Linked DNA regions of Homo sapiens: regions 1, 2, 3, 4, 6 and 7 are each linked to region 5. Evidence: promoter capture Hi-C in human tissues and cell types (Jung and others, 2019). All regions are on one chromosome and are shown on one strand. The core of a region is centred on a gene start or on the middle of the fragment in contact, and the rest is flanking DNA. Distances in the headings are between cores, read along the strand shown.

Region 1 (4,191 bases), core at 75-2,574, 830 kb before region 5:
AGGAACTTTGGCAAGCCCCAACATTTCCAGCTTTTAAAGTGTCTAGATACTCACTGAGGTAACGTAGGTCCTGGTGTGAATAAGAGGTTTCTCCACAGGCCAAGTGTGAACACATTGCTTTTCTGTCCTTTCTCTTGGACAGAGAATCCTCCGCTAAGACTGGTGTGTGTGTGTGTGTGTGTGTGTGTGTGTGTGTGTGTGTGTGTGACAGAATCCCACTCTTGTCACTCAGGCTGGAGGGCAGTGGCGCGATCTCAGCTCACTGCAATCTACGCCTCCCAGGTTCAAGCGATTCTCCTGCCTCAGCCTCCTGAGTAGCTGGTATTACAGGTTCGTGCCACCACACTCGACTAATTTTTGTATTTTTATTAGAGATAGGGTTTCACCATGTTGGCAGGCTGGTCTTGAACTCCTGACCTCAAGTGATCTGCCTGCCTTGGCCTCACAAACTGCTGGGATTACAGGTGTGAGTCACTGCACCCAACCAAGACCGATTTTTATTGTGGTTTTCCTGGGGAGCCAGAACGGAGTTGTGAAAACAGCAGAGATAGCACAGACCCTGACCTGGCCCTGCAGGGGTGAGCGCATCTGTAAACACTGACCCTCCAGAGAGTCACAGGAAGTATATGCACCACCACAAACACACACACATCGATTCCACTCACCTCTGTGTGTAGTTCACAGCACATACTCGACAAGTGCCAGTTGTCAAAGAATTTTGCAGGCCAGGTGATTTTTACCCTCACTGGTGTCTAGAGGGAGGAAGGAGGGTACAGCATGCAGTAGAGGGAGGCTCGTGTGCTCTGACACATCTGCCTGGGGGAGCGACACTTCCTATATATTTTGCACCTAGTCTAGTGCGCCTCCTCACATATCACTGCTTTCTTGATAAGCTGAGTGGTAGACATCCTTAAACACCACCACAAAGTAGTGAGAGTTAAGGCTGAGACTACATCCCCGAATTCAGATATGCCCTATCCTCAATCTCATTCTGTGATGGCAAAAGGAGAGCATCTCCTTTGTGGCCAAAGGATTTTAGTTTCTGGAAATGACTGAGTGACTACACATAGAGGTCAGTGCCACTGAAAGAAAATTTATTGCTTCTATTTCCCAGGAGGAGGGGGCACACCACATCACGCAGGGCCATGCAGAAAGCTCAGGGAGGCTAGGAGACAGAAGGAAGGGCCCAGCCAGAGCCTGTATTGAGGCTTCTGTGGAGAAGTAAAGGCAGGGATGGGTACACAGCGTAGGGTGGTCTCTGGTTGCCTGGTACTTGGCCCTGGGATGATTTAGGGTAGGGGCAATGTTGGCTTGCTGTGCGAGTTAGGGAAGAAGGTGGGGGCTCAGACTTGAATCAGCAGATCTGCATGTGAGAAGTGAATACAAGGCATTGGACTTAAAAGGAGAGAAGTGGACACTTTGGCTGAGAGTTGGGCCTTGTGAGGAATGGATGGCAAATATACATACAGAATCTAAGAAAACACAGAACAGAGGGGGCGGGTTTGGGGGAGATGATGTTTCCATTTTGGAACTTTTCAGTGCGGAGCTGTAGGTATCTGGTGGCCACCCAGAGGGCAATCGGCAGGTGTTTGGACGTGTCTGTCTGAAGGTCAGAGCCAGTCCCCGCTGAAAAATCGGATGGGGAAGGAGTCTGCATGCAGCTTTGCCCCTGGATGGGTGGGCTCCAGAACATATGGGCAGGAGGAGCTGCTGCTCCTGCAGGACTTGGCCATATGGGGCTTCTCTCCATGTCCTCTGCCTTTACTGCAGCTCTGCTGTGAAATGTTGGGAAGCTGGAAAAGTTATTGTTGGTGTTTATTGTCCTTGTTTAGCATAAATCCGGTCAGAAAATGTCTGTTAAAACTAAAGGGAGAACATTGAGGAAACTTGGGAAAATGTGCTGGAATAAGGAGAACATCCCTCAAAATGCTTATTCCTCACTTAGGACAAACTGGGCACATGCTGTTTTGGACTAACTTTCAAGATAAAATTATTAACGTTGCCACTGAGGAAATTCAGATGGGAGGAAACTAAAGGGAACTGCAAAGGTGGTCTGGTACAGTAGCACGTGCAAGGTCCAATCCAGAGTCAGCTTGTACCACATTCTGGCAGCCAGAGGTGCTGTAGGATCAGGGCTCTGCTGCCTTAGACTGGACACATCCTGCCTCTTTCTTATTCTGTTGTTCTCTCTGGACTTAAGGCTGATTCTCTTTCCTGTTTGTAGATTATGTTTCCCAAAGTTTTGATGACCAGTTATACATGATGTTTTATATCATGCTTGCCAGACCACGCTTCCCACTGAAAAGGTGTAACAAAAAAAGCTGTGAGCTCCACCTCCATTTTCCAATTTCTTGTGAATTTTCTTTCCATTTTCCTTTAGAAATAGTTGTGAGTGTCAGCCTGTTCCATACCCTCCCTTGCAAGCTGTTAAATCCTACATGGATTTTATTTACTATTCAATCCTCTGCCTCATATATGCAGCAATTATTCCGTATCTGGTGACTCACTAGGAAATTCACTGAAAATTTATCACCACAATTCATTTAAGGCCACACTCTCTGTCAACCTCTGACTATAACCCATTCTTTTCTTTTACTCAACAGAATAATCGTAAAGTATTTCTTTATATTCCTTGTCGAGGTGAGTTTTTTTTCCCTGTAGATTATTCAGTTTATCCATCAGGTTTTGACTTTTTAAAACCACTTTCAATTTTAAGAAGACAATTTTTCAACATATAACCTCTAGTTTTATACTATCTCTCAGCTAAGCATGCAATCGTCTTCTGTTTACTGACTTTAGGTGCTATTTTTAGCAGTAAATATTATTCTGAACAACCCTCAGTAACGCTGAGATTATGGGTTTGAGGAATGCCAACATCAACAGAATCAGGTGTGGGAACTACCTGACAAGGGTTTTTAAAACAGCTGTCAAACATTCTATGACAGTCTATTACAGGCAAATGTAATACAGATAATTTCAGCAAGGAAATAGATTCATAAAAAAGAACAGGATCAAATTATAAAACTGATAAATACGATAACAGAAAAAAAAATTGCTGGATGGATTCAATAGTAGAGTGCAAATGAAAGAGATAAAATATGTGAAATTGAGTACAGAAAATTAGAATTCACCCAATCTGAACAACAGATAGAAACAGACTGAAAAAAATGATATAGAATGGAATAATTAATGGCCGAAGACTTGACAAATTTTGCAAAAGATACACACTTAAAAATTCAAGGCACTGAAAAAAAGCCCCATGAATAGATACTAAGACATATCATAATTGAAGTTCTAAAACAAATAAAAAAAATTAAAAGAAGCCAGAGAGGATCGACATGTTACCTACAACGGAACGCCAATTAAAATGACATCAGATTTCTCATTAGAACCAAGGAAAAGAGAGGGACATGGCACAATACCCTTTAAAGGCTGAAAGAAAAGAGCTGTGAACTGTGTTTCTATACCCAATATAAGTATTTTTCAGGAAAGAAAGAGAAATAAAAACAATCTCAGATGTAGAGAAAATATGGGAATCTGTCAATGGCAGACTTATTCTTAAAGATTGCCTAAAGGATGTTCTTCCAACAGAAAAAAAAAAAGATGAAAGACGGGAACTAAAAGCATCAGGAAGGAACATGGAACAATGGAAAGAGCAAAATATAGGTTCAGTCACATGCTGTATAAAGACATTTCTGTCAATGACAAACTGCTTATGTGACAGTGGTCCAATAAGATTAGAATGGAGCTGAAAAATTCCTATTGCTTAGTGATGTTATAGCTGTTGTAACACTGTAGCAAAATTACTTTATTTTTCATGAAATGCAGTGCAGCTTAAGTGTACAGTGTTTGCAAAGTCTACAGTAGTGTGCAGTAATGTCCTAGATTTTCACATTCACTTAACCGCTCACTGACTAACTCACCCAGAGTAACTTCCACCCTGCAGATGCCATTCATGGTAAGTGCCCTATACAAGTGTACCATTTCTTTTTATCATTTATATTGTATTTTTTCTGTACCTTGTCAATGTTTAGATATGTTTAGATACATAAATACTTGCCATTGTGTTATAAATTGCCTGCAGAATTCAGTACAGTAACATGCTGTACAGGTCTGTAACCTAGGAGCAATCGGCTCTACAATACAGCCCAGGTGTGTAGTAGGCTGTACCATCTAGCTTTGTGTAAGTGC
Region 2 (4,236 bases), core at 922-3,421, 980 kb before region 5:
CAGCTGTCTCTCTAAATCTACTGGGCCAGGGCAAAGAGTCTCATTGCTTATTGAAGAATTTCTTTATGAGCCTCCTGCCTTGAGTGCTGGCAGATGTAATTTGTTGCCTTTATTATCTTGTAAAGATGTTAATCTCCAACCACAGCGAGGGGTTGCTTCTGTGATTGATTTTGCTTTGCTACTTGACAGGTTGAAGAGCTTGCAGAATCTCTGTGCCACGCTTGCCAAGGTTCTTGCATCCCTCATCTGTCATAGAGAAAGTGGTGGAGATAAAATTGTGCCAGCAGCACCTTGTCAAACCCCTGCTACAGGCATCCATTGTGAGTCATGGGATAAAGGATAAGAGAGCAGCCAGAGGCTTCAGCATCATATGTCTGAGTTCTGCAGAAAGGTTTGGAATCCACAGACTTTCACTACACTGTTGCCACTAAGTTGCACTCTGCCCCCAGCACAGGAAGATCTGGTCCAAAATGTACATAAAACAGCAAATGGGATATAGAAGTTGGGTTCTGCACTTGCAGACACTTCCTGTTTCGTACTATGGCCCTAGGCCAGCTCTTGTTCCTATCTGCATGTTCCGCTCACTCAGATCCATAGTCCCATCATGTGATTCTAGTTCTAGTCACCTGGTCTTCTCATAAATGGAGCTCTGGAGATGGGCACTGGGGTGACACTGTCTCTGAAGCCCGTGCTCTTGATCACTGTGTCTCATCCCATTGCCTCTGCCAATGGCTGGCTGGAGCAATGAATGCTATGAAGCTGACAAAATCACAATTCTGTACAGAGATCCACAGACACATACAGAAAACAAAAACTGAGGACATTTAGAAATAGAGGCTTAGCAAATATATCAAAGACTGTATTTGTTTCCTTTTGCTGCCATAACAAATATTTGCAAACGGAGCTGCTTAAAACAACATGCAACTCACTGTCCTGTAAATCAGAAGTCTGGGAGGAGCATGGCTCATCTGGGCTTCCAGGCTAAAATCCAGGTGTCAGAAGGACACTGTTTCTTTCTGGGGTCTCGGGATGATTCTGCCTCCAAGTTCCTGCAGGTTAGCAGAAGTCAGTTCCTTGTGGTTGTAGGATTGCGTCTCTGTTTCCTTGCTAGCTGTCAGCTGGAGGTGATCTTTAGCATCCAGGTGCCACCTGTGTTCTTTGGTTTGTGGCCTTCCTCCTCCAGGTTCAAAGCCAGCAATGATGGTGAAGTCCTCACATTTCAATTATTTTTTCCTTCTGCCGTAATTCTGCCATCTCTTCTTTTCCCAGATAGCTGGAGACAGTTCTTTGTGAGGGCTCATGGATTAGGTTAGGCATACCCAGAAAATCCAGGATAGTCTCTCAATTTTAAGGGCCATAACTTAACTCACATCTGCAAAGCCCATCTTGCCATGCACTGTGGTAATTCATACATTCTACAGAGTGGGATGTGGGCATCTTTGGGGGGAGGAGGAAAGAGATGGAGATGAAAGCACATACAGTCCTGGAGAATAAAAACAGGGAATTCGGAGGAGTTAGAAATGAGAACGCTGTTGCAGGTAGTGAAAGTGACATAAAGATTTTGCAACATAATTTAAACAAAAATATCCATTTTATTACCTTTGACTTGAAGACAACAGGCCCACAAGGTCCCACCTTTTCAGTCTTTTGGACCCTCGCACTTACATTGTGACTTGAATAAAATATTAATTACTTTTAGATATCAAAGGGTAGGTGAGTCCAATAAGTGTTGGCACTGAGACAATAAATGATGGATCTTTCTAAAGTTTTTCTAAGTTTTGTCTTCCTGCGTCAAATTGGAAGGGCTTGTATGGAATTGTTAACTGAGGGAAGTTGAAGCCAATGCACACATACCTGGGAGAACTGGGGGAGTTAGTCAGGGTAATCTTCTTGCAGCTTGACATTTTCCAGTGTTCAACCCACATCTGGCCTCGTGGAGTCATTATTAGGGGAAAGGGCATGCATAGAATGTGGGGCCAGAATATCCGAGTCAAATCTGGATGCTAGAGTTTATAGTTATGTTATCTGGAGCAAGCTACTTAGCCTACTGGGGAATTTGTTTTCTTAGCTGTAAAAAGGGGGTATCACATCTAAAAGATTATTATAAGTCCTCAATAAACAGCAGTATAACTTGTTGTTAAGCATCTTACACTTCTCATATTTTTCCAATTTTTCCTCTGGATTTTTTCCAAATGTGTAGGCCACAGAAGTTAGTTTAGTATTCATATCCATGTAATGGATCTTTTCACAGTAAATAATTGTCCAAGATTCCACAGAGTGGCCTCCAGCCTGAAAAGGATGGTGAAGGCCTGCCATGGAGGAAGAGTCGAAGGACTTGGGGAGTCTTACCTGCAGAAGAGAAGGCCCAGGGAGTCATGGGTTGAAGCATATGAAATTGATGATATTCAGCCATTTTGACCTAAAAATTGGTAATTTCATAAGACTCAACATAATAGATGAAAACTTTTCCAGGCATCCTGCAGCCTGTCACGGGAAACATAAACTGAGTCAGTATATACATCAACAAAATAAAGACCTATCAATTAATTAGTGGGAACTTGCTTGGAAACAGCCAATGTAAGGAAGGATTTCAGCACAGTTAAACAGTCTAAAGATGCAATAAGCTATTATTAGAGACACCATTTCCTGTCAGTGGAGATGTTCAAGAATAACCTGGACTACCACATGGTAATTCAATCCTCAAATATCAGTTTTTCACTTTACAAATTTTAAGCCCCCTCTCACCCCAAGATTTTGAATTTTAGACTTAAATAGTCTAAACAATTATTATTTAGCATTCAAATCCAGTGTATGTGATATATAAACTTTTAAAGGTTATTAATAGAATGTGGAAAGTTAATTAAATACATAATTTATCTTGTTTTACTAGGTTAATATTTATTCCCTATCTATTTCCAAAATAGCTAAGGTAGATTATTAACCTAAAATGTAAAAGTAGGAGTAAACACATCAGAAGAAATATAATTTATAATCATTTTGCATTACTTAAAAGTGCATCTCATAATTCTGTAAATTATAAAAATCATTTAGCTGATCCCTGACATGAAAGCCCATTGAGTTCCTTAGTTTTCTGCTAATTTAAAAAAATATATTTTTTAAGTATTTATTTTATTTTATAGAGATAGGATCTCCCTGTGTTGCCCAGACTAGTATCAAATTTCTGTCCTCAAGGGTTCCTCTTGCCTCAGCCTCCCAAAATGCTGAAAATACAGGTGTGAGATACTGTGTCTGGCCAGAAAACAAAACAAAACAAAAACAAAAACATAACCCCAAATTATTATTTTATATTATTAAAATATTCAGAAGCAGCATTGTTTTCTGAAATTCCTCATTATAATTATATATTCTGCCCAGTTTATAGGCCATTATAATGTAATGTAAATTTGTGGATTGGCTTTTTATTTTTCTTACAAAGAAAAACTTAAACATTTCCATTAAGTCAGTCTTCCTCCTCCCGGGCCTGGCTCCCTTCTCCACATCTGCTTACCAGGGTGACCTCAGTGTCTTGGGATCGAGCCTTTCCATGACAGCCCTCATGTAGAGACCTCCAGCCTAGACCCAGGTGGGTGCAGCAGTGATCTCACTGGCTTGCTGAAGGATTCTCGCCTTCCTGCAGTCTAACAAGCTCTCAGAAGGCTTTCAGCCAGAGCTGGGCCCATGGTAAAGAGAGCAGCTCAGGAAGCCTGGGTCTCGCCTGAAGTGCTAATGCACCCCAGAGATCCCATTCCAAAAGACAGGGAGCTGGTGGCATTGGCCTTTCCTCAAACTCTCAGACAAAGCACCCCACATATGACTCTGGGCTAGGGGTGAGTGCTCTCTCTGTCTCTCTCTCTTTTTAACTAAGCAAGATAGAAAAAATATTAAGATAGACATGAATACAGGTTAAGAGAATGGAGTATTAGTCTTGGCTCTCTCTAGATTCTCTTGTTCATTTTCCCATTGAACTGGGAAGAATCGGGTCAAGGAACAGGAAGCACCAGGGCACCGAGAGCAGCATCTTCCCTGGACGTTTCTATCATAGATCATCCTAACGAGAGTTTTCTTTTGTGATAAGGAGGATGATAATAATGTCTTCTTCCTGTGATCTGAAACCCCAGGGAGGGAGAGTATTCCATCTGCACCAGCTTTGTAGATGAACAGAAGGTGGTGATAAACATCTCAAGAGAAGGAGTTAGGAAACGTTTTCATTTTTGTTTTGTGTTCTCTTTCTCTCCT
Region 3 (4,129 bases), core at 350-2,849, 1.0 Mb before region 5:
TTTTTAAATTTTGTTTTATTCTGTTTTTTTCCATTTTATTTTTCAATCTCACTTTTTAAATTGAACGCTTTTTTATTACCAGAAAAAAAATGCTTAGTTTATTTATTCTCAATGTTTTTATTTAACATAAAATTTTTTAAAGGTTAAAGATTGGAAACATCCAATGGGTTTTAATATAAAGCTTTTTCCTTGTTTTTATTATAAAATAATCTTAATTTCAGAGTTGAGGTCCTTTTGGATTCCAAGAATTTTTAATAGTTTTCTTTAATCAGTTCCATGTTTTTATTTTTGATGGTGATGTTTTGTAGTTATTTTCATTTCTACTTGATTGCATTAAGGACAAAAACATAAACTACAATTTAGCAACATTTTGGTATTTATTAAGGTACATTTTGAAAAAAATGCATAAATAATTTTATAAATGTCTCACTGTAATAAAAGATTGTGCCATCTCATTTTGTGAGGTACCAAGTAACAGACACAAACAGTAACAGTGAGCACTTTCAAAGTGGAAGAGGTTGTACTGGACACCAGCCATGACCACTTCTCAAAATTTCTTGTTTGATAATGTGTGCTACTTTTTAAAATCAGATAATTTATGAAAGAACTAACAATTTTTCAGTGTTACATAATATGGTAATGAAAATTATTATGCAAAAAGCTCTTGACTTATGTGGAGTTGTGATCAGTTAAATGAGGCCAAAGAGAACAATCAATTTTAGTGATTCTTATTCCTGAATTGCCACACTGTGTTTCCAAATAGCCATATTGAGTAGTTTGTTCCCAGGGCTAAAAGAGTGGGCACATTTTTCAGTCCTCAGGCACTCTTTACAGTCTTCTATGGGGTCCTCAGAGAAATAGCAACTGAAATCCACAGTAGCAGCTGCCACTTGTGACTGCACCAAGCATGTGTTAATGGAAACATTGGCTTTTACATAAACGGACGTGCTCATTTCTTGTCCCATGTCCCATCAGTCTAAGCGTCCATCCTCTCGCCACAAGTGGATTTACAGTGATTATACAAAGACAAGTTGAGTTTAATGGTTTTATTAAGTGGGATGCAATAAGATAAATCTAGATTTTTTGATAGGATTGTCAGTGATGAGGAACCCCTCTAAAAAGAATGTAAAGGCTACCTACCTGTCTGCTAATGCTATGGCATGAAGACAATTCATATGTCTTTGAAGACCTCAATTATATCATTTTTGCCCATAGATTAACTATGTGATGTTTGATTAGTTTGCCAGTTGCTTATTCATAAATGTGTTATATGTTTAACATAATCTGTAAGGCTTCTTACACTAAACCTTCCATATTTCTAAATTTTATATAACTGTATTAATGTTAAAAATAAATAGACAATTTCATAAAGAACAACACTTTTTTGGCATCATTCAATGTGGAAAAAAGGCTGAGAGAGTTGGTGGACCCAAGCTATTGGTGACCTGTCAATTTAATCTACCCTTAACTGAGCAATGTAGTCAATGACAGCTGGTATACCTGTGTACTAATCCTGGATTATCTGTGAGATAGTGAACAAACCTCTTAACTTCTAAGGGTCTTTGTTTTGTTTCCACATCTATAAAAAGGGATTCTTCAGTGTTTTGTGAGACATTAGGTATGACTGTGTTCTGTTAGCTACACGGTTCATTATTAGTGTAACACAGCATCATTAAAATAGAAGCAAACAAGTTATAGTACATGTAGATCATATTACACTTGGTTCTAGGCACCACTTATAAATAATAGAAAAGCAGATAGATGCATAAGATGCCTCAAGAGGACGATGCATGTGAGATGCTGTGGTCTCAATGTCCCCCCAAAATGCAAACATTGAAATCCTGAAAGTGATGGTGTTGAGTGGAAGGGCCTTCAGGCAGAGCCCTCATGAATGAGATTCGTGCCCTTATCAAAGAAACTCCAGAGAGCTCTATGGCTCTCCGTCCGCAATATGAAGACATGAAGAATGTGCCGTCTATGAGGAACAGGCTTTCATCAGACACTGAAACTGCTGGCCTTGGATTTCCAACCTCGAGAACTATAAGAAATGAATTTCTCTTGTTTATAAGCCAGTCTATGGTATTTTTAAATAGCAGCTTGAACAAACTAAGACATAAGGTGTCTGAAAATTGTATCCTACTATAATATCCTGAGAGATCTGGGCCTGTTTACCCATGAAAAGGAAATTCAGTGGTGTGCACACAGATGGCTTTATGAAGACTTATCATGATTGTGATTAGAGGTGAGTGAAATATTTTGAGCTTCCCAAGGATGCAGACTCAAAAAGAAAGCATACCAGAGGGGATATTTTTACTTAATATGGTATCATTTCACAAAGAAAAGAAAAGAAATCCCTTTTCTTTCAAAGTTGTGAGCTCCTAGTTACTAGTCATAATCAAGAAAAGTTGGGTGATCATCTTCCAGGAATTCTGTAGACAGGAGTCCTGTCTTGGGTAGACTGTTTTATAAGTGAAAAATCATTTTTTATCCAATGATTCTACATTCTAATAAAATCTTCCATCAGAAGTACTCTTGATTAAAAAACAACATGAAATAAGTTATGTTGTTACTACTTATAAATGTGGAATTCCAGGGTAATAACATTAATTGCTGGTATGAAGCCTCAGTTTTTCTATCCGTTACTTGTTCAGACGCACCCTTATGATGTGAGGCAGGCATTCTTGCTCCGGTGCTTGAAGGGAAAAACAGAAGCTCAGAGAGGTTAAATGGCCCATATGAAGCCAAATAAAAACCAGCAGAGCAAAGGCTCAGAATACTGTTTTATTTTAGATGTTAATCCAGGGGTCTGTCCCCAGGGACAAGTAATAGGAGACTTGCCAGGGATTTGCTCAGCCATCATTCTCTAGGTTCGCACACGTTCTCCCATGTACACAGGGAGACATCTCTGCCTGCTCTTCTCTCAGCTCAGGTCGTCCTCATTGTGTGGAGCAGCATAAGGGGCTGGTGAGACTGCTGAGAATTTTATGCAACAGAGAGAGGTAGAGATGTGGGTCTGTGGTTGGTCTTCATTTTTTTAAAACTCAGGCTCTCCATCAATAAATTTTTAGCTCTCTGATTTTATCTATATTTATATATTAGAAATCTTACACATTTACTACTGCATAGATATGGCATACTTGTTGAGAAGCATTTGAAACTACAGAAAATTTAAAATGATTATATAAAATCAATACAACAAGAAGGTGACAACACCTCTGTATAAAGGATGCTTTGGGAGACATGCAGGGTCAAGGAGTCCCATTAGTTGATGGAACAACAGTCCTGGAGGCAAAAGAGGAGGGCTTAAATGTTAGCCGTGACAATCTCTGTCTCCCTCAGGCCCAGAACACCACAAATGCTTCCTCTTAGTACTGTCCTTTTTAGCTGTGTCACGAGTTAACAAGATCTGCTATGTCTTGGAGGAGAAAGTGCTTTGTGAGTAGGACTTATTGCGGTGTTTGCGACCCGGACTTAAGAGCAGTAAATATATTCTAGCACCCGTGACCCAAGAAAGCAACAGGTCCTACTGTGTATGTAAAGGTAGCATCATTAAAGCTGTTATTGTTTGCATATGTGGATATTGGAGCTCTAAGGAAGAACTGAGTTACTAGTAATGAATAGTATAAGAGAAACAATAAAAATGTAACATGTTTCTTGCTAATTTTTCATTTATCTTGAAAAACCAGCTTTTTTTTTAGCAATTTCTGATTCCCTAGGCACAATTAATGTCTCCCTCTGCTGTAGTCTTATTGAATTTTCTATTGAAATGCTCATCATACCCCATTGGTTTTCTCTCTTGTTTTTGTTTTGTTGTTGTTGTTGTTGTTTGTTTTGTTTGTTTGTTTGATTTTGAGATCGAGTCTTGCCCTGTCGCCAGGCTGGAGTGCAGCGGCGTGATCTTGGCTCATTGCAACCTCTGCCTTCTGGGTTCAAGAGATTCTCCTGCTTCAGCCTCCTGCGTAGCTGGGACTACAGGCGTGCACCACCATGCTTGGGTAATTTTTTGCAATTTAGTAGAGATGTGGTTTCACCATATTGGCCAAGATGGTCTTGATCTCCTGACCTCGTGATCCTCCCATCTCAGCCTCCCAAAGTGCTGGGATTACAGGTGTGAGCCATCGTGCCAGGC
Region 4 (4,178 bases), core at 622-3,121, 940 kb before region 5:
ATGTTCAAGGCTTATTAGGGAGGCTTGTGGAAAAGGGGGCTCTGTGTGTGTGAAGTGGTGGGTCTACATATGAGGGGTGTCCAGGGAATAGGCATGGGCTGCATGTTGGGAGGTGTGTGGTGTCAGGAAGTGTGTGGTGTGTGTGTGTGTGTGTGTGTGTGTGTGTGTGTGAGGGATAGCTGTGGACTAGGCTGAGAGAGAATGGTGTGCAGGCCTGAGGCATGTGTATGAAGTATGCGAGAACCTCCCCATGAGGGCTTGTGTGGAAGTATGTATGTGGACATGGGAGGATGGGCAGTGCCCCTATGTGTGTCTAGAAGCAGTGCCCGAGAACACACAAGAAAATACTAGAAGAATAGACAATGGGAGAGAGAAACAGAGAAACAGTGTGAGATGGAGTGGGGTGCAGAATTTAGAGTTTGTGCCTGAGAGATGGTGATGGTGAGCATGTCCTTGCCCTACAGAGGGTGGGACCTATGCACATATATGGGAGTGAACACATGTATACATATTGGATGTGGATGTGACTACACGTGAGTGTGATGCCATCACTTATGTCGGCGTTGGGGGACCATGTGGTGTGTGGGTGTTGGGAGACAGATCTGTTGTGGGAGGGGGACTGGCCATGCACATGTGACTGTGTGGGTGGCTCTGTGTGTCTGGCGACTACACCCCCAGGGTGTGCATGTACACATGTATTATACTATATTGCATGTCACTCACAGGGTTTAGATGCAATCCCACTAATTTTCACTGTGATAATTGTTCCTATGGTGCACCTGGGGGTCAGGGAAGTGCCACTCAGTTTGCAAAGACATATGTTGAGCTATGAGCAAAAATGGCAGGGTCTCTGTTTAGAGGGGTCTAGCTCCTTCTACCTGTCTTCACTATAACTGTCTACATTTGATTAAATTTTTAAAAAGTAGAACCAGATATGTGCAGGAAAATCTCATCTTTCCATCCTAAACCCTTCAGTTCAAATAGTCCCAACATCAACCAACATTTAGTAATTCCAATGGTTTTAAAAAACAAAATTACTAAAACAAAAACAAAGCCCACAGACTGTGCCTCTGGTACTGAACTGTCTTTCTATTTCAGTTCTGCAGAGCTGAAAGAACACAGAGTGACTTGGTGTTTCCATACCATCTTTTCTGTAGTAGGAAACTACATTTGAGACATAAACTGCATGGGGCCGTCTGAGTCGGGCCCCTGCGGGGAAAGGATTAACAGCTTTGGAGACCTGGACCAGAACCAGCCAGAGCCCCTTTCTGACCCTTGGTATAAAACCTTCCTGTTCTTTGGTCTCTCTCATCTTTCTCAGGGGCGGATCCAAAGTGCACTTCAAGCCCCCAAAACTCACCTTCTCCCCTTAACACATGGAAGGGGGCTGGGCTTCTCGGCTCATATAAAAAAACCGAGGTTTGTCAGTGACCAATTCCCTCAAATTCCTACACCTCTTGTACTCACACATTTCTTTCTCCTTTCTTCTTCCCTTCCCTCCTAAATCCCAGAAATGAAGGACATCCTTTCCCCACCCAGGCGGTCCTGAGAGCTATGCTTTTCCAGTCCTTCCTGGCCCATCTGTCTGAACCACCCTCCTCCTCTTAACTCTCACCGGCCTCCTCCCCTTTAAGCATAAATATGCTCACCCCGCCATTCTCAGAGGGCCTCCCTCTAGCCTCTCCTCGGCTTCCATCTAGTCCTGCATCGTCCAGCTCTGTAGCTCTCTCATTGGTGTTGGCTGTCCCCATCCGCAGTCCTCATTGGCTTTAATTCCCTCCCCGCTCAACATGCTCCCTTCCCTGGGTCCCTGTGAAAGCACACTCTGGGCACTGTTCTCAGCAAAAAGAGGACTAGTGGGATGAAAACAATGAGCATCTTACAGAGGAGGAGCCAGAGGTTGGGCAGCAAACATCACATCCAGGTGTGCCCGTTAGGCAGTAATGGCAGGCTGGGCCAGACCCATGGCTCGTATTCAGCCAGGCTTTTCCCATGCTTCTTTGCTGACTTACTTCCTCCTGGAATTGCTCCACAAAGAATCCTCAGGAACCTGTTATCTAATTCCTGCTGAAGAATGGGACCACTCACAACTCACGTGCTGCTTTAGGACAGTGGTTCTCACATCATGGGAGCACGTGGCAATGCGGAGACATTTGTGGCTGCCACAGTTGGGGAGGTGCACAAGGAGGCGGCTACTGGCTTCTAATGGAAGAAACCAGGGATAGTGCTAAACATCTTATAATGCATAGAACAGTTCCCCACCACACAACATGATTTTGAGACCCCAAACATGCAGCTTGAGGAAAACAATAAGAAGAAAGGCATATTTTATGCATTTTTTCTCTTGTCGAGAAATGAAGGGAAGAAAAGGAAGACATAGAGGGAGGGTGAGGTGGAGGAGGGAGGAATGGGGTGAATGAGAAATTGTATTTGCTGGCGGAGATCTAATAGCGGTGGGGCTGGAGAATGAGATCCCTGCCACCTAACCCTCCCATCAAGAGGCCGGCTGTGAAGAAAGACTTCAGAGCAGGCAGGGGGCAGATAGGATCTCAGCTCCTCCGCAGGGTGCTGGGCCCGCTGCCTCCACCACTGGAGTTCACAAACTCTAGAAAGTGCAGAAGCCTTCACTGCAGAATGGAGATGGTGGTAGCACCTCCGCCTGGGGGTTTGAGGCTTAGCCAGGGTGATCAAAGGACAAGGCTGTGTTAAAATTCAGAGCACTATGAACCCATTTGTCAACTTCAGATAGAAGGAAAAGTGGAAAGTTGAAATGGAATCAAGAAGAGGAAGCAAAGAGCAGTTGTGGCCAGTGGAAATGGGTCAGAGGTGGGTTTACGGAAAGGTAAGAGAATGGGGAGAGAGGCAAGACATTGGATAATTAACAGAATTACAAAAGAAGTGGAGCCTTTCATGAGGGAAGGGAGTGAAGGGACGGATGGGAGGGCAGGGCAGTGCAGGACAAGAGGGGGAAATGTAGGGTCAGGAGAGAGGGAGGGAAAGGAAAGCTCAGGCGATGGGAAGGAGGGGCCAGCACGTGTGAGTCAGGGAAAGTTGGCCTGCCAAGGGCCCGGAAATGACATGAGAAATAAGGACACATGTTATCTGGTTTGGACAGAGAGTGATGCCATTAAAGGGGATGCCCAGTGCTGAGACAGACGAACAAAGATAGCTTTGATGAGAGAGGAGCTGGGAAAGGAGCAGGTGGGCAGCTAGAGTGGGAAGGAAGGGGCCTGTGACAGCGATGGCTGTGGGTGGGTGACTGGCAGGGAAAAGGAAGTGAGCTCAGGTTTCCTGGCAAGGAGACATGCTTCCCAGAGGATGAGCTGCCTGAATCAAGCCATTAACAGCTGCCAAGTGATTCCAGCAGACAGTATGCCTCTTTCAATTAGATTTCATATCCATGAGTAATGAGCTGGGTCACATCTTTCCATGCATCAAAAGATGAAGGTTGCTTCATTTTAAGCTGCCCAGTTATATCCTTTCGGAAGGAAATTTCAAACCAAGGAGTTGTCTTCACTTTTTGTTTCTGAAAGGAAAACATCTAGTAACAAATTTTTGCATTTCCCCAAAATCTGGGAGTAAGGGTCGGGGGTGGTGATGGATAAAAACTACACATTGGGTACAGTGTGCACTGCTTAGGTGATGGGTGCAACAAAATCTCAGAAATCACCACTAAAGAACTTATTCATGTGATCAAACACCACCTGTTCCCCAAAAACCTATTGAAATAAAAAATATAAAATTTGAAAAAAAAAATTTTAAATTCTTCAGAAGATTTTCAGAGTTGGAATTCGGAGAAGCTTTAATGTCAGCTGGTTTTGAAATGTCAGATTTACTTACTCTACAGTTGTTCCTGGGCCCACAAAAATAGCAATGTATTTTAACATGTGGGGCTATAGTGGAGGAAATAGTCCCAATGCAGATATTTTCTAGAAAACGGAAGGAACTGAAAGGGGCCAAAGATCAGCCAGTGATAGAAAAGTGTTCTAGAAAGCTTAAATCTATTTCCCCAAGAGTCCAGAATTTAGGAGGCAGTGCTTGGGAAAGCAGTCTTTTCATATACCTGAGAGCCATTTGTATATATTTTTGGAGAGATATCTAGTCACGTTCTTTCTTAATTGGGTCCCATTTATTCAAGTCTCACTCTTTTATGGGCTGTTTGGTCTTTTGTTGCTGTT
Region 5 (3,905 bases), core at 185-2,684:
GAAAAGGGGAGAGGACGAGAGAGAGAAAGGGAGGGAGAGGGACAAGGAGAGACACTGGGCGAGAGATCGATTAGGAGAGACAGAAATGATGAATGAAGATTAACTTCACCCAAGGCTTCGTGCTGGAGGGGAATGGAGGAGCTCCTGATTTGCTATTACTACTCCAAACTGCAAAGGGCTCCTTCAAGTCACCTATCCACCTCCTAAGGCAAGCGTCCAATTTCAACAGCGTTCAGGAAAGTCTCCTCCCGCGGAGGTCTCACCGCTTCCCACTCCACCCCCACAAACTCTTTGGAAAAGTGCCTTGAAAAATTTAATCCTCAATCCAATCCTGGACCACCAGCGTCCTCTGTTGGTCACCGAAGGGAGGGGGTGCGCAGACAAAACTGAAGAAACTCGAGTGCCAGAGAAGGCCGACAGGAGTTACAGCGACCTCAGCGCGCAATTGCGCCCCCGAACTTTACTGAAAAGTGTTTAGATTGCAGAGATAAGCTAGAATCCCAACGCATCGAGAATACAGTAATACGAAGTCGCCTTCAAAAAATGACAATGAAAATTGCCTATTAAAGGACTATTTGGTTAATTACGTTTCAGCAGTGCCCAGTTTATTGTCTTTATTATTCTTTTGTCATGGGTGTAAACTCCATTTGAAAACATAATCAGGGAGAATACCCAAGACAAGAAGAACAGTTGTCATTTAAAATATTTGAAAAGCCCTGCCTTAAGGACGCATTCGCTTGCCGGTCCACTCTTAATTGGAGACTTGCGGTGTAGCAACACGTGAGAGTCTTCTTGCGTTGAGAAGTAAGCCTGGAAAGGGGCGAAGGCCCCGGGCGCATCTTCAGATGCGTATTTGTGGGCCCCTGGGGATATAAACAGCCCAGCGGGTGTAAATTAAACCCCGCAGTGCCTTGGCTCCCTGAGACCCAAATGTAAGTCAGAAATGTCCCAAGACTTCGCCTGCCAACGGAATTAAATTTTAGAAAGCTCCACGAGGTACACACGAATGCGGAGCGCTGTATGCCAGTTTCCCCGACACCGGCTCGCCGCAGGGAGACCTCACCCCGAGAGCGGAAGGGGTAAGGGCGGCGGGGTCAAGGAGATCGGGGGTGCTGAGTTGGCCAGGAGTGACTGGGGTGACCGGGGGTGCTGAGGTGGCCTGGAGTGCCGGGGTGGCCGGGCACACCTTGGTTCTTGTAGACGACAAGGTGACCCGGGCTCCGGGCGTGCGCACGAGGAGCAGGTGCCCGGGCGAGTCTCGAGCTGCACGCCCCCGAGCTCGGCCCCGGCTGCTCAGGGCGAAGCACGGGCCCCCGCAGCCGTGCCTGCGCCGACCCGCCCCCCTCCCAACCCCCACTCCTGGGCGCGCCGTTCCGGGGCGTGTCCTGGGCCACCCCGGCTTCTATATAGCGGCCGGCGCGCCCGGGCCGCCCAGATGCGAGCACTGCGGCTGGGCGCTGAGGATCAGCCGCTTCCTGCCTGGATTCCACAGCTTCGCGCCGTGTACTGTCGCCCCATCCCTGCGCGCCCAGCCTGCCAAGCAGCGTGCCCCGGTTGCAGGCGTCATGCAGCGGGCGCGACCCACGCTCTGGGCCGCTGCGCTGACTCTGCTGGTGCTGCTCCGCGGGCCGCCGGTGGCGCGGGCTGGCGCGAGCTCGGCGGGCTTGGGTCCCGTGGTGCGCTGCGAGCCGTGCGACGCGCGTGCACTGGCCCAGTGCGCGCCTCCGCCCGCCGTGTGCGCGGAGCTGGTGCGCGAGCCGGGCTGCGGCTGCTGCCTGACGTGCGCACTGAGCGAGGGCCAGCCGTGCGGCATCTACACCGAGCGCTGTGGCTCCGGCCTTCGCTGCCAGCCGTCGCCCGACGAGGCGCGACCGCTGCAGGCGCTGCTGGACGGCCGCGGGCTCTGCGTCAACGCTAGTGCCGTCAGCCGCCTGCGCGCCTACCTGCTGCCAGCGCCGCCAGCTCCAGGTGAGCCGCCCGCGCCAGGTGCGCTGCGTGCAGCACCCGGCGCACTGGCGCCGAAGGGCCTGGGGGTTGCTGGGTGCCGCTGCGGGAGACTCCGCTTTTCTTCTCACTGGAGATAATATGTGGGGAAACTGAAGGCGCTCCGGGAAAGGTGAAGGCGGTCGCCGGAGGGACCCTCCCCAGCCGGCCCTCTACTTGCTCGATTCTCTAAGTGCAGAGTACTTGTAAATTGCAAAGCGCTTTCAGTGAAAATGGGTTAAAGGTTTCCGGAGCTGAGGGGAGCGGTACCGATGTTTAGCTGTTGGAAAGATCCTGGACACAGGAGATTCTCCTCGCCCCGCACGGGGGTGCACACGGACTGCAATCCCAGGGATGCTTGGGGATGGGGGGGATATAGGCGGATTTGGACCAAGGAAGGTGGGCAGGCACGTTGTAGGAAATAGTACCTCTCTTTTAAAATACTGACTTTGCACAGCCTTTTGGTTTGCAAAGCAATGTCTAGTCCCGGTATGTCCAAAAACAAGTAAAGTGGATTCGGGTTTTGATATCTTCTGCGGTTGGAAAACCTGAAGCTGAAAAAGAAGTAACTTCTTAAGGTTACCCAGCGGCCACAACAGAGTGTAGGTTTGAACTCCGCGTGCCACTTTCAGTACCATACCATTCTTACAACTCGGGCCACCCCTGCACCTGCGCCGACCTCAAACAAACTTCCAGGTGCGTGGTGGGTGCGGGCAATGTGGACTAAGTCAATTTCAATGACACGGAAGGGAATTGGAATCAGTCCTAGGGCTGTCTCCCTTCTTAATCTGAAATGGGGGGGGGAATGAGATGTTGTTAAGGGGAGCCCCAGAAGAGGAAAAATGCAAACATTTGGCAGAGTTACCCTCTTGGCTTAGCCACTATCAGTATCAGGCAGACAGCGACTCTGGTAAGGGCATCACATTGTTCCCTTAAAAAAAGGAGCGGGGGTTGTTTAAATGGATTTGGCAGCTGTTCTTTCAAGCATTCTTAGCCAGCCTCACCTAGTTATATGAGAAATAAAGTTCCTGCCTTGCACAGCTGAAGGCTGGGAGAATTCTCCCCATCCTAATTCCCCCAACTCCCCAACGATCACGTTGGACAGATGTCACTGGGCAGGCCCCCATCTAGGGCTAGCAGGATGAACAGTCCCTTTATAATTTATGTAGCTGTAGAGTTCCACGCCCGGGTGAAGTTATTTTCTGGCTCGGCAAGGCTGGCTCTGTTCACCCCTGAGAAATGCTGGATTCATGGAAAGGCAAGATGCCTGAAACATACACTGGCTCTGGTCAGCTGTTAAAGCTGCTGGAGGCATTTGTCTCTCGGGGCAAAGTTATGTCATTTGCCAAGTGTCGTACATTATTGTGCATTTTGGGGTATTCAAAAAGTGATCTTAGAAATACTGATACACATCGTCATTCTTGGGCTTTAGCAATCATCATGATTACCACCTTAGTAGCACTGTAGTATAGGTTGATGTGAGTTATAAGATTATAAAAAGATCTAAGTGACTTCTAGAATCTATTTGACAAAAAAAGGTAAATTTTCGACAGTCAAAAGTCACAATTATCTGTTGCTTAAATAGAACTGTTTTGTCTTCATGCCCTAGTCTGCAGCCCAGGCATTAAGAAGAAACCAAGGAAATTTAAGAAATTACTCAAGGTTCTTAGAAAAGAAGTATAAATACGTTTATTTACATGTTCTTAGAGTATTTACATTCTTAGTATCTCTTTTATCTCAGTATTTCCTTGAAAAAGAAAGCAAGCTAAGATTAAAAGAAATTGAAACCAAATCCTCGCAGGTAGGGACCTCCTCTGTGAGGCTCTGTGCTGGACCCTGGGAATGTGTGCTTCCCAAGGTATGAAACCCCTTGGGGAACTTTACAGCAGGACCTCAGTGAGCTGTTTGGCAGGTGAGGAAAC
Region 6 (4,165 bases), core at 203-2,702, 890 kb before region 5:
CCTCAGCCAGTCATGGAATCACAAGATGAATAACAACTCAATCCCTGAATCACGGGTATGCAGGGAAACACCTGTACACCTACAACGTACACCTCGGACTTTCTGTGTCCAAGAAACAAGAATAACTCATTTATAAATCGTCTGATATTTTAGTCAAAAAGTTAGACATTTTGGGATCTATTTGATACAAGTAACGTTATACTAATCAAACATCATGCTTGCAGGCTTTGGGAACTCCCTTGTCTGACATGCCTTAGTTTATGCTCAGGAAAGACAGACCATATTAAATGGGAGCCTAATTTAAGCATAATTAAGATCCTGTGTTCAGGAGTAAAAATCAGGAAAAAAAAACTAACAAAAACTAATAAATCAAACTTTTAATTAGATTAAGAAATGATCACTTTAAAATTATTCCATGTTTGGAATACTCCAGTTCATTCGTGGGTAGTCAGAAAGTGTGTTCATTAGTTGAGGCGTGGTGGAAAATGGTTTTGTTGACATTTCTTCCTGAGGATTATTAAATCCCATGCTAGTCTTACCAGGGGAAAAATCAGGACACCAAGGGAAACATCAGAGTTCTAACAAATATTATTTAATTTTAAACATATCTCAATTTTCAAGTTATAATAGGATGTCTTGGTAGCCAGGCTGGTGGGAAGCTAAGAGAAGAAAACGGCACACAACAGTTAAGGGTTTACGCTTATGCACTTACTATCAGTGCTTTGCTCAAGTTTCCGAGAAAAACTGAGGAAGCTTCTCCACCACCCTCAGAATGCTGGTTTTACCTTTTCCTTTCTTTTATGCAAGACTTTTTCCTGGGGTTCTCAACTTCCAACTTAAAAACTAACTGTAGTTATGTTCTAGGTTTTGTTTAGCTATTGTATGGTTTTCCTCTTGTTTCTATCAAGTTGCTTTTACGTTTACTCTTCCTGGGCTCTGCTGGTTTCTTGAACAACGACTATCTCTCTGGATGTCTTGCCTGAGCTTCTGTCGAGCCCAGATCAAGCCTCAGAGCCAGTGTCAACAAGGAAAACTGGTTCATAAGCTTTGGATGTGCTATCTTCCTCTGCATGGTCTGCAAGGGGACCATAAGTCCAGGGCCTCCAGGATCACCGAGACCATCTGCATCACAGCCCTGGAAGCTAAGGACCCATTCAGTTCCAGAATGTTCCTTGAAGCTTCTGCTTTCATCAGAAATGTTTCTCTTTGAACATATGCTGATTATTGAATCTGAGTGATCCTGACCCTCCCATTCCCTTGTCTTTTACAGGATCATGAGAATAGGCTGCTGGAAAGAATGGAAAGGCTTCCTCTTCTGAAACTGTGTGTGTGTGTGAGTCCTAGACAGACCCAGCCTAACTAAAAGTCTTCCTTTATCTTTTAAAAAAATATTCTTAACAGTCATATATATATCTATATTATATAATATATAGGTAACATTATTGTCTGTTTCCGTGCCCAGGGTAGTAGCCTTAGTAGTAGTAGTAACAATTATAAAAGTAATTAGCATTTGTTGTGGGCTGATGTGCCACACTCAGAGTTGTTCTTCACATATAAGACAACAAATTTTGCTTTTGAATCCAAAACAAAATAAATGCTTTCAAACTTTAACAATTTAAATTATTTTGCTCTAAGCTTGGTCAAAGCTGAATACGAGAGGCATTCATCATCAGCCTGTCTATGTTATAAAAGTGAAGTCAGTTTCTGGCAGGGAGTGAGGAGTGTTGGAGGGTTATCTCTGACTTGGTCTAAGCGGAAACATTTCTTAACGATATTTTCAGCTTAAGAAGAGATTTAAGCGATTTCCTAGTATCTGATTTTTTTTTCTGACCTAATGTAGTGTCAATACTCTCATGATTCCCTAATTAACTTCACAAAGGCTTGTATTATGTGAGCAGACCAACAGATGTTTCTCAGAAGTGACACCTCCCTCTCCCGTCCTTACAAAGGCGCATGTGCTGTGTGCCTGTGTGAGGACAGGTTATAGAGAGATGCTCACTGCTTGTTACCAGCAGCCAATTTTGGGAACCTGAAAACACTGAAAACTCTCTAAGAGTACCCATTATGCCCACTCCTCCACAGAAGGTGCAACCCGACCAGACAGATCTGCTTTTCCTAGAATGCCTCCGCTGCTCCCCTCTTGGTGCCTGAATGTGGATCTCATTGGAGGGGGGTTTCCAAGGTACCACACCAGTAATTGTTCTGTAGATCTTTTACTGTGAGTAAGCTGCAGTTAACAGTTGCCTCATGACTTTTAATTAGGGTGAAATCGAATGCAGCCCCGATTCCAGACCTTCCCACAATATCACCACCTCTCCATAATAGAGGAAAAAACTGAATGGTACACAGGGCTGCTCAGCCCCTCATACACATGGATTTTCTCCAGCTCCTTGCAGTGATCATCAGCCCTTGGGACCTTGTGGTTTGCCCATCCCTCCGGCTTCCATCTGGGTGATGTCATCCTGCAGTCCCCCACAGCTCTGAGATGCGCTGGATGATGCTATTATTAGCAAGCCTGAGCTCAAGGCCAACTGGCTTGTCTGTTGGCCTCACACTGTCATGAATAGGCTTAATTGCTCACACCCTTTCAGTGGGTTTTTTGAATAGACATTTTTATTAACTTAGCATTCTTCCCAGCTGTCTTGAAGCAAGAAGTGAGGGTGAAGAGCAGTGGGAGGGGTACCCTCAACCTCCTCTCTCCTCAGACAGATAAAAGAGCAAGGTGGGCATGGGGAGGGAGAGCCTCTTACTGGCCACGCTTAATAGGGATGTTTGGCCATCTCTAGGGTGAGAAGCCCTTTTGAGCCCACAGCCCAGTAAACCTGACTTGTCTGAACAGAGGGGACATTGTACCTGAGGTCACCGTGGCCAAACAGCACGATGAGAGGAGGCACTAGGCAGCTTCCTTCCTGGCAACCTTGATTTCAGGGCCACATGGAGTCTCACACTCTAACTCTCACTCTGTGTCTTACTCTTCCTCTAGCCAATTGCTAGAGGAAAGGAGGATTACATGTTCTTGGGAAATTTAGCACATGTTCTTGGTTTTCTGTGGCTGTACACTTATATGATGAATGAAGGGCTGTCTCTTATCTGATCAGTTCTGAACCTTCCAAAAAGGCAGTGATATGAACAGGAGGCAGGGAGATACTGGGTAGACGAAGGCAGTTCCCTGGCAAAGGCCCCACCCTTAAGCCTGGAAACCCGCTGCCCTGTATGGGAAGAGGCGTTTCTGTTTTCATGCCCAATTTTTGCCTTTTGGCCCACCACACTCCCCCATCCTGTAACCATATAAATCCTAAACCCCAGGCTCCACAAGCAGAAAAGCAGAGGAGCAGTAGAGTGACAGAGCCACAGAATGGCACAACAGAGAAGGAGAGAAAAGAAGGAGCGTATGAATATCGACAGGAGTTTGGCTGGAGATGGTTGGAGAGGAGGTTGACCACAGGACAGTCGAACTTCAGGACATGATCATCTTCCTACTCCATCTTCTCTTCAGCTCCCTATCCATCCCACTGAGCGCCACCTCCACCACTCAGTAAAACCCCTGCAGTCACCAACCTTCAAGCCTGTATGTTACCTGATTCTTCCTGAACGCCTGACAAGGATCTGGGTACCAAGAGGACACAGAGCTGGTTCACGCTTAAGCTGTCTGCGGACAGCAGAGCTAAGAGGGTACTGTAACATGCCCACTGTGGCTTCGGGAGTTACAGGCCTCACTCCTAGATGCTACTGTGGGGACAGAACCCAAAAGCGCTCACCAGGTTCCTGCACCTGGTGGTCTGTGTGCTCCCCTTCCGGTAAGGGGTTTAAGTCCATGGCAGTGGATGAACAGACAAACCACACCCCTGTCACATGTCCCGCGAGGGGGTCAGAGAACTCTCCCATTTCAGCAGGAAAAGTCTCCAGGGCCTCTGTTGGGTATCGAGTTTGTAAAAGTCTGTATTTAAAAGCCATTATCCAGTAATCCTTGGAGAAAAGGTGTGTTGTGCTTCTCTCTTGAACTTCACTGGCACTGATGTGGGTTTTTGAAATTCAAACCCTTTCTCTGGCGACATAGATCCATGCTGAGCTGCTCCTTATACTCAGGCTGCTGTTGTCTACAGGCAGGCCAGGAGTTCCTAAGGCCTGGGGCAATCAGGGTGAATTGGGCTCCCTCCAGTTGAGG
Region 7 (4,110 bases), core at 1,558-4,057, 850 kb before region 5:
ACAAACTGCTGGAAGCTGAATGTGAACTAGTATGAGAGTGAGAAATTCCTGGTGGCCACAGTCTTAGAGGTCCTTCATACTCTCCTGGGATTCATTGTTCCTGCCTCTAAGAACGCTACCATGTTCTCATGGTGAAAAGCTAATAAAAAATTCTCTTCTGTATCTAGCAGGGGGAGAGATGAAGTAAATTACTGTGAATTACTCCCACATTCTATTCTGTGATACCTCTCTCTCCATTACAGAAAGACAAATTCTTAGCACAAAGTGCACCAAATTTTCTATAGCCTAAGACTGTCTCACAAATTCTGTTTTTTTTTTTCTATTAACCAAACACTTGCAGAGGAGACAGTGATGTTTATTATTTACCCCCCCCAACCCCACACACACATACACAACACACACACACATACACAACACACACATAGAGAGAGAGAGACCAGAAATTTGGCAGGTAAGAATTTCTTACTCTTTTTGCCAGCATACCAGGTTTCCAGATCCTCTTTCTCTCTAGCTTTTAGAAGAATGGAGCAGCTTTTGTTGACCCTGTTCACTGTGCCATAATTGTGGGAGGCCAAGCAACATTTCAAAAGAAAATCATCTTCTTCTGTTTTATGAAACCATAGACAAAAGCTTCTCAATTTTGCAAGATTCTGCCCAATGGGCTGAATAGGGACCCACATTAATATTTTCCATCCCAGCAGAAGCAAAAATACACATAACAAAAGACACTAGTCACCTCATTTAACACCCAATATCGACCTGGCAAGGCTCAAACTTTTTCCCACTGGTTCCTGTTGTCTTTGATCCATTCAAGATTGGGAGGGGGTGACCTTCAACCAGGAATTCAATGGGTGGTCTCTGGGCAAGATAAAGAGTGGTCATCCTGAATCAAGCCTGGGAAACTTCTTTCAGGGATCACTGAATGTGACCTTATAAATAAGGAAGGTTCTCTGAGTTAGGCCTCCTGGACTTCCATCAATGATTCTGTTATGCAAGTCCATGTGAAGAGACCACCAAACAGACTTTGTGTGAGCAATGAAGATTTTTAATCACCTGGGTGCAGGCAGGCTGAGTCCAAAAAAGGAGTCGGCAAAGGGAGATAGGGGTGGGACAGTTTTATAGGATTTGGGTAAGTAGTGGAAAATTACAGTTAAAGTGGGTTGTTCTCTTGTGGGCAGGGGCAGGGGTCACAAGGTGCTCGGTGGGGAGCTCCTGAGATTCATTGTCCAGGAGAAGGAATGTCACGAGGTCAATTGATCAGTTAGGGTGGGGCAGGAACAAATTATCACAATGGTGGAATGTCATCAGTTAAGGCAGGAACTGGCTATTTTCGCTTCTTTTGTGGTTCTTCAGTTGCTTCAGGCCATCTGTATGTATACGTGCAGGTCACAGATGATATGATGGCTTAGCTTGGGCCCAGAGGCCTGACAAATTCCTTCAGAGATCCCTTCCACATATAGAAACACACACACAAAGACAAGATGGACAGAAGGTGATATTGGTTAGTGGTGTCCCCACCCAAATCTCACCTAGAATTATAGTTCCCATAATCCCCACATGTTGTGGGAGGGACCCAGTGGGACATAATTGAATCATGGGGGTAATTACAGCATGCTCTTTTGATAGTGAGAGAGTTCTCATGAAATCTGATGGTTTTATAAGGGGCTTTCCCTGCTTTGCTCAGCACTTCTTCTTCCAGCTGCCATGTGAAGAAAGACATGTTTGTTTCCCCTCCTGCCATGATTATAAGTTTCCTGAGACCTCCCCAGCCCCGCAGAATTGTGAGTCAATTAAACCTCTTTCCTTTATAAATTATCCAGTTTTGGGCAGTTCTTTACAGCAGTGTGAAAACGGACTGATACAGAAGGCTTTCCATATTAAGATCCCTAACCAAGAATTCCCAGAGTATCCCTTCCAAACTCTCCTCCTATTGTCCTCCTAAGAAATCTCCCCAAAATCTTCCTGATTGAGGAGAAGTCTTCTGAACCAAGACTCTTCCTACTAATTAGGGAGGGCCAACTGAGACCCCTGAAGGAGCTGAACCAAGACAGACACTCTGCAATGAGGCTACAGACAGACACTCCACCATGGTGCTACAGAATCAATCAGGAGAAGGAAGGAGGCATTGGCAATGCCTACGATACTCACTGAAACAGACATCCCATGATAGGGCTACAGCTACAGACATTTCATGACTGGGCTACAGACAGACACCCTGGGATAGGGCTACAATTATGGGACATCTCCCCAGAACAATTTCTCTATTGGAATTAAATCCATGCACAGGGTGAGCAGCACCCCATCAGTAGATACAGTACCAGAGTCAGCCCCCAGTCCAAGAAAACTAAGCAGCCTCTTGGGCTGGCCTCTGAATCCACTACTGGAGGGAAGCTACCAAAGCACGGGCAGGCAGCCACAAGGGCAATCTTGGATGAGCTCCCCAAATTTGTAACCACCCAGTGGGTTCACCTTGTCTGCTGCTTAGACAGAGCCAATTTATAGAAACAGGAAAATTGCAATAGAGAAATAATAATTCACACAGAGCTGGTTGTGCACAAGACCAGAGTTTTATTGTTACTCGTATCAGTCTCCTCACTTGTACTTTCTAAACTTTCTTCCTATAAAGGTTTCAGAGGCTTTTCTCTAGTGTTGTAGTCACGTTTTATTCAAGAGCAAGTCATAAGAGGGCAGTGAAACTAGCTTTAAAAGAAAGGGACATTATTCCAAGCCCTTCTGAGAGCCTCAGTTGGTCTGTGTTGATATGAGGACATCAGGATGGCTTCCACTCAGCTGCAGGGTCTGCTCTGAGATCACATGACTTGTATTTTAATTCCACCTTCTGTGGTTTGTCTGATGTGGAAGCATCTGTGGAACCTGTCTGAGCCTCACTATAATTTGAAATCATAGCAGTACCTGGGTACACATCTATTGTGAAATCCATAGCATTCTCATGTCAGTGCGGCTCATCCATCCAAACCCATGTGATCATTGAGCAGTTTCTGGGTTAAACCTTAGTGTTAGGAGAGGGATGATCATGGACAGAAAAACAAATGAATGACCCCTGCTGTGATAGACACATGAGTTCATCATAATATTAATATTTATTAATATTGTTTCACTAAGTTGTATTGTTTTATCAATGTATTTATACTGTTTAATGAACATTACCCATTTGATCTAGTAATCAAATACAATTGCCATTTATTGTCTTTACTATATTGTTTGACAATGTGAAGAATATAAATACATGAACAAAATGATCTTCAGAGAGCCAAAACCTTGCTGGGTAAACACCATATTAAATAACTGGAGGCTTGTGAGTTTGAACTTTTAGGAAATTTCAGCTGCAAGGAACAGGAAATCCAAATCAAAGTGGTCTAAGGGTGATGAGCTTTATGGTTTCCCACAAGCCAGCACCCCAAGGTCAGGAGCAGAGTCTCACAGCTGCCCTTCTGCTTCAGGAGTGCCTCTGGTTGGGATTCTCTTTGCTGACTCTGTTCTTAGGCTGGGAGAAAATAACGATGGCAGCATTAGAGCCCACATCTGTGTAATGCCACTTTCAGAGAAGCTGTTTTTTATTTTTCTGTTCAGAGTCAGAAAATATTTCCCAGAGTGTTCAGAAGCTGTCCCTTATTGCCAGATCTTATCAATATGTTCTTTCCTGCATAACCCCCACCTCAGGGGGACATCCACGCAGAGTGGCTCCAGCTTGCCATGCACAGGCCTCATAGAGGCAGTCTGCATAGAGTTGCATGGCTGGGACTGTTCGAGGAGGCAGAACTCCCTAGCATGAAGGCCTAGACTTCACGGCATGCTCAGTGTAAGGACAACCCTAATTCATACAACAGCCCACAACTCATATTGGGAGACCCATCGTTCACAGATTCATGCTCCTTCTCTTCATTTCACATGTAAAATGCCCATCTCCACAAAAAACATACTGAGTTCTCTGCCAAACAGAGAAACCCAAAGCCTCATCCAATACTGCATTCAAAACCAAGTCCAGAATATCTGGCTCATGCAGCTTCTGCTCTGTCATGTTCCTCCTATCACCACAAAACTCACCCTGCAAAACCCAACATGTAGTGGTATTGAAAGGGGAGATCGCAG

The links. Contacts are between HindIII fragments. The study calls those that stand out against the background at their distance.
Region 1: a fragment that was not itself captured here is called in contact with the fragment with the promoter of IGFBP3 in region 5 in 1 of the 25 tissues and cell types used here (mesenchymal stem cells).
Region 2: a fragment that was not itself captured here is called in contact with the fragment with the promoter of IGFBP3 in region 5 in 1 of the 25 tissues and cell types used here (mesenchymal stem cells).
Region 3: a contact is called between a fragment that was not itself captured here and the fragment with the promoter of IGFBP3 in region 5, in 1 of the 25 tissues and cell types used here (dorsolateral prefrontal cortex).
Region 4: a fragment that was not itself captured here is called in contact with the fragment with the promoter of IGFBP3 in region 5 in 1 of the 25 tissues and cell types used here (dorsolateral prefrontal cortex).
Region 6: a contact is called between a fragment that was not itself captured here and the fragment with the promoter of IGFBP3 in region 5, in 1 of the 25 tissues and cell types used here (IMR-90 fibroblasts).
Region 7: a contact is called between a fragment that was not itself captured here and the fragment with the promoter of IGFBP3 in region 5, in 1 of the 25 tissues and cell types used here (lymphoblastoid cells).

Annotation. Positions count from the first base shown.
Region 1 is chr7:46,743,833-46,748,023 of GRCh38, reverse strand. No RefSeq gene overlaps it. Among named protein-coding and RNA genes, the nearest start is that of SNORD151, 720 kb to the left of the region's middle. The HindIII fragment of the contact is 4,039 bases long and covers 1-3,343 here.
Region 2 is chr7:46,896,884-46,901,119 of GRCh38, reverse strand. All of the region lies in intron 1 of LOC124901626 (a long non-coding RNA gene), which reads left to right. Among named protein-coding and RNA genes, the nearest start is that of SNORD151, 570 kb to the left of the region's middle. The HindIII fragment of the contact is 6,970 bases long and covers 1-4,236 here.
Region 3 is chr7:46,917,370-46,921,498 of GRCh38, reverse strand. The region is part of intron 1 of LOC124901626 (a long non-coding RNA gene); the gene reads left to right. Among named protein-coding and RNA genes, the nearest start is that of SNORD151, 550 kb to the left of the region's middle. The HindIII fragment of the contact is 3,578 bases long and covers 1-3,388 here.
Region 4 is chr7:46,859,220-46,863,397 of GRCh38, reverse strand. No RefSeq gene overlaps it. Among named protein-coding and RNA genes, the nearest start is that of SNORD151, 600 kb to the left of the region's middle. The HindIII fragment of the contact is 4,673 bases long and covers 1-4,178 here.
Region 5 is chr7:45,918,801-45,922,705 of GRCh38, reverse strand. IGFBP3 (insulin like growth factor binding protein 3) reads left to right here and starts at 1,434. Exons shown (of 5, transcript NM_000598.5): 1 at 1,434-1,968. The coding sequence starts at 1,566. RefSeq lists enhancers at 470-1,050, 1,051-1,631. The HindIII fragment of the contact is 8,943 bases long and covers 1-3,905 here.
Region 6 is chr7:46,810,033-46,814,197 of GRCh38, reverse strand. No RefSeq gene overlaps it. Among named protein-coding and RNA genes, the nearest start is that of SNORD151, 650 kb to the left of the region's middle. The HindIII fragment of the contact is 3,306 bases long and covers 1-3,105 here.
Region 7 is chr7:46,766,553-46,770,662 of GRCh38, reverse strand. No RefSeq gene overlaps it. Among named protein-coding and RNA genes, the nearest start is that of SNORD151, 700 kb to the left of the region's middle. The HindIII fragment of the contact is 5,034 bases long and covers 291-4,110 here.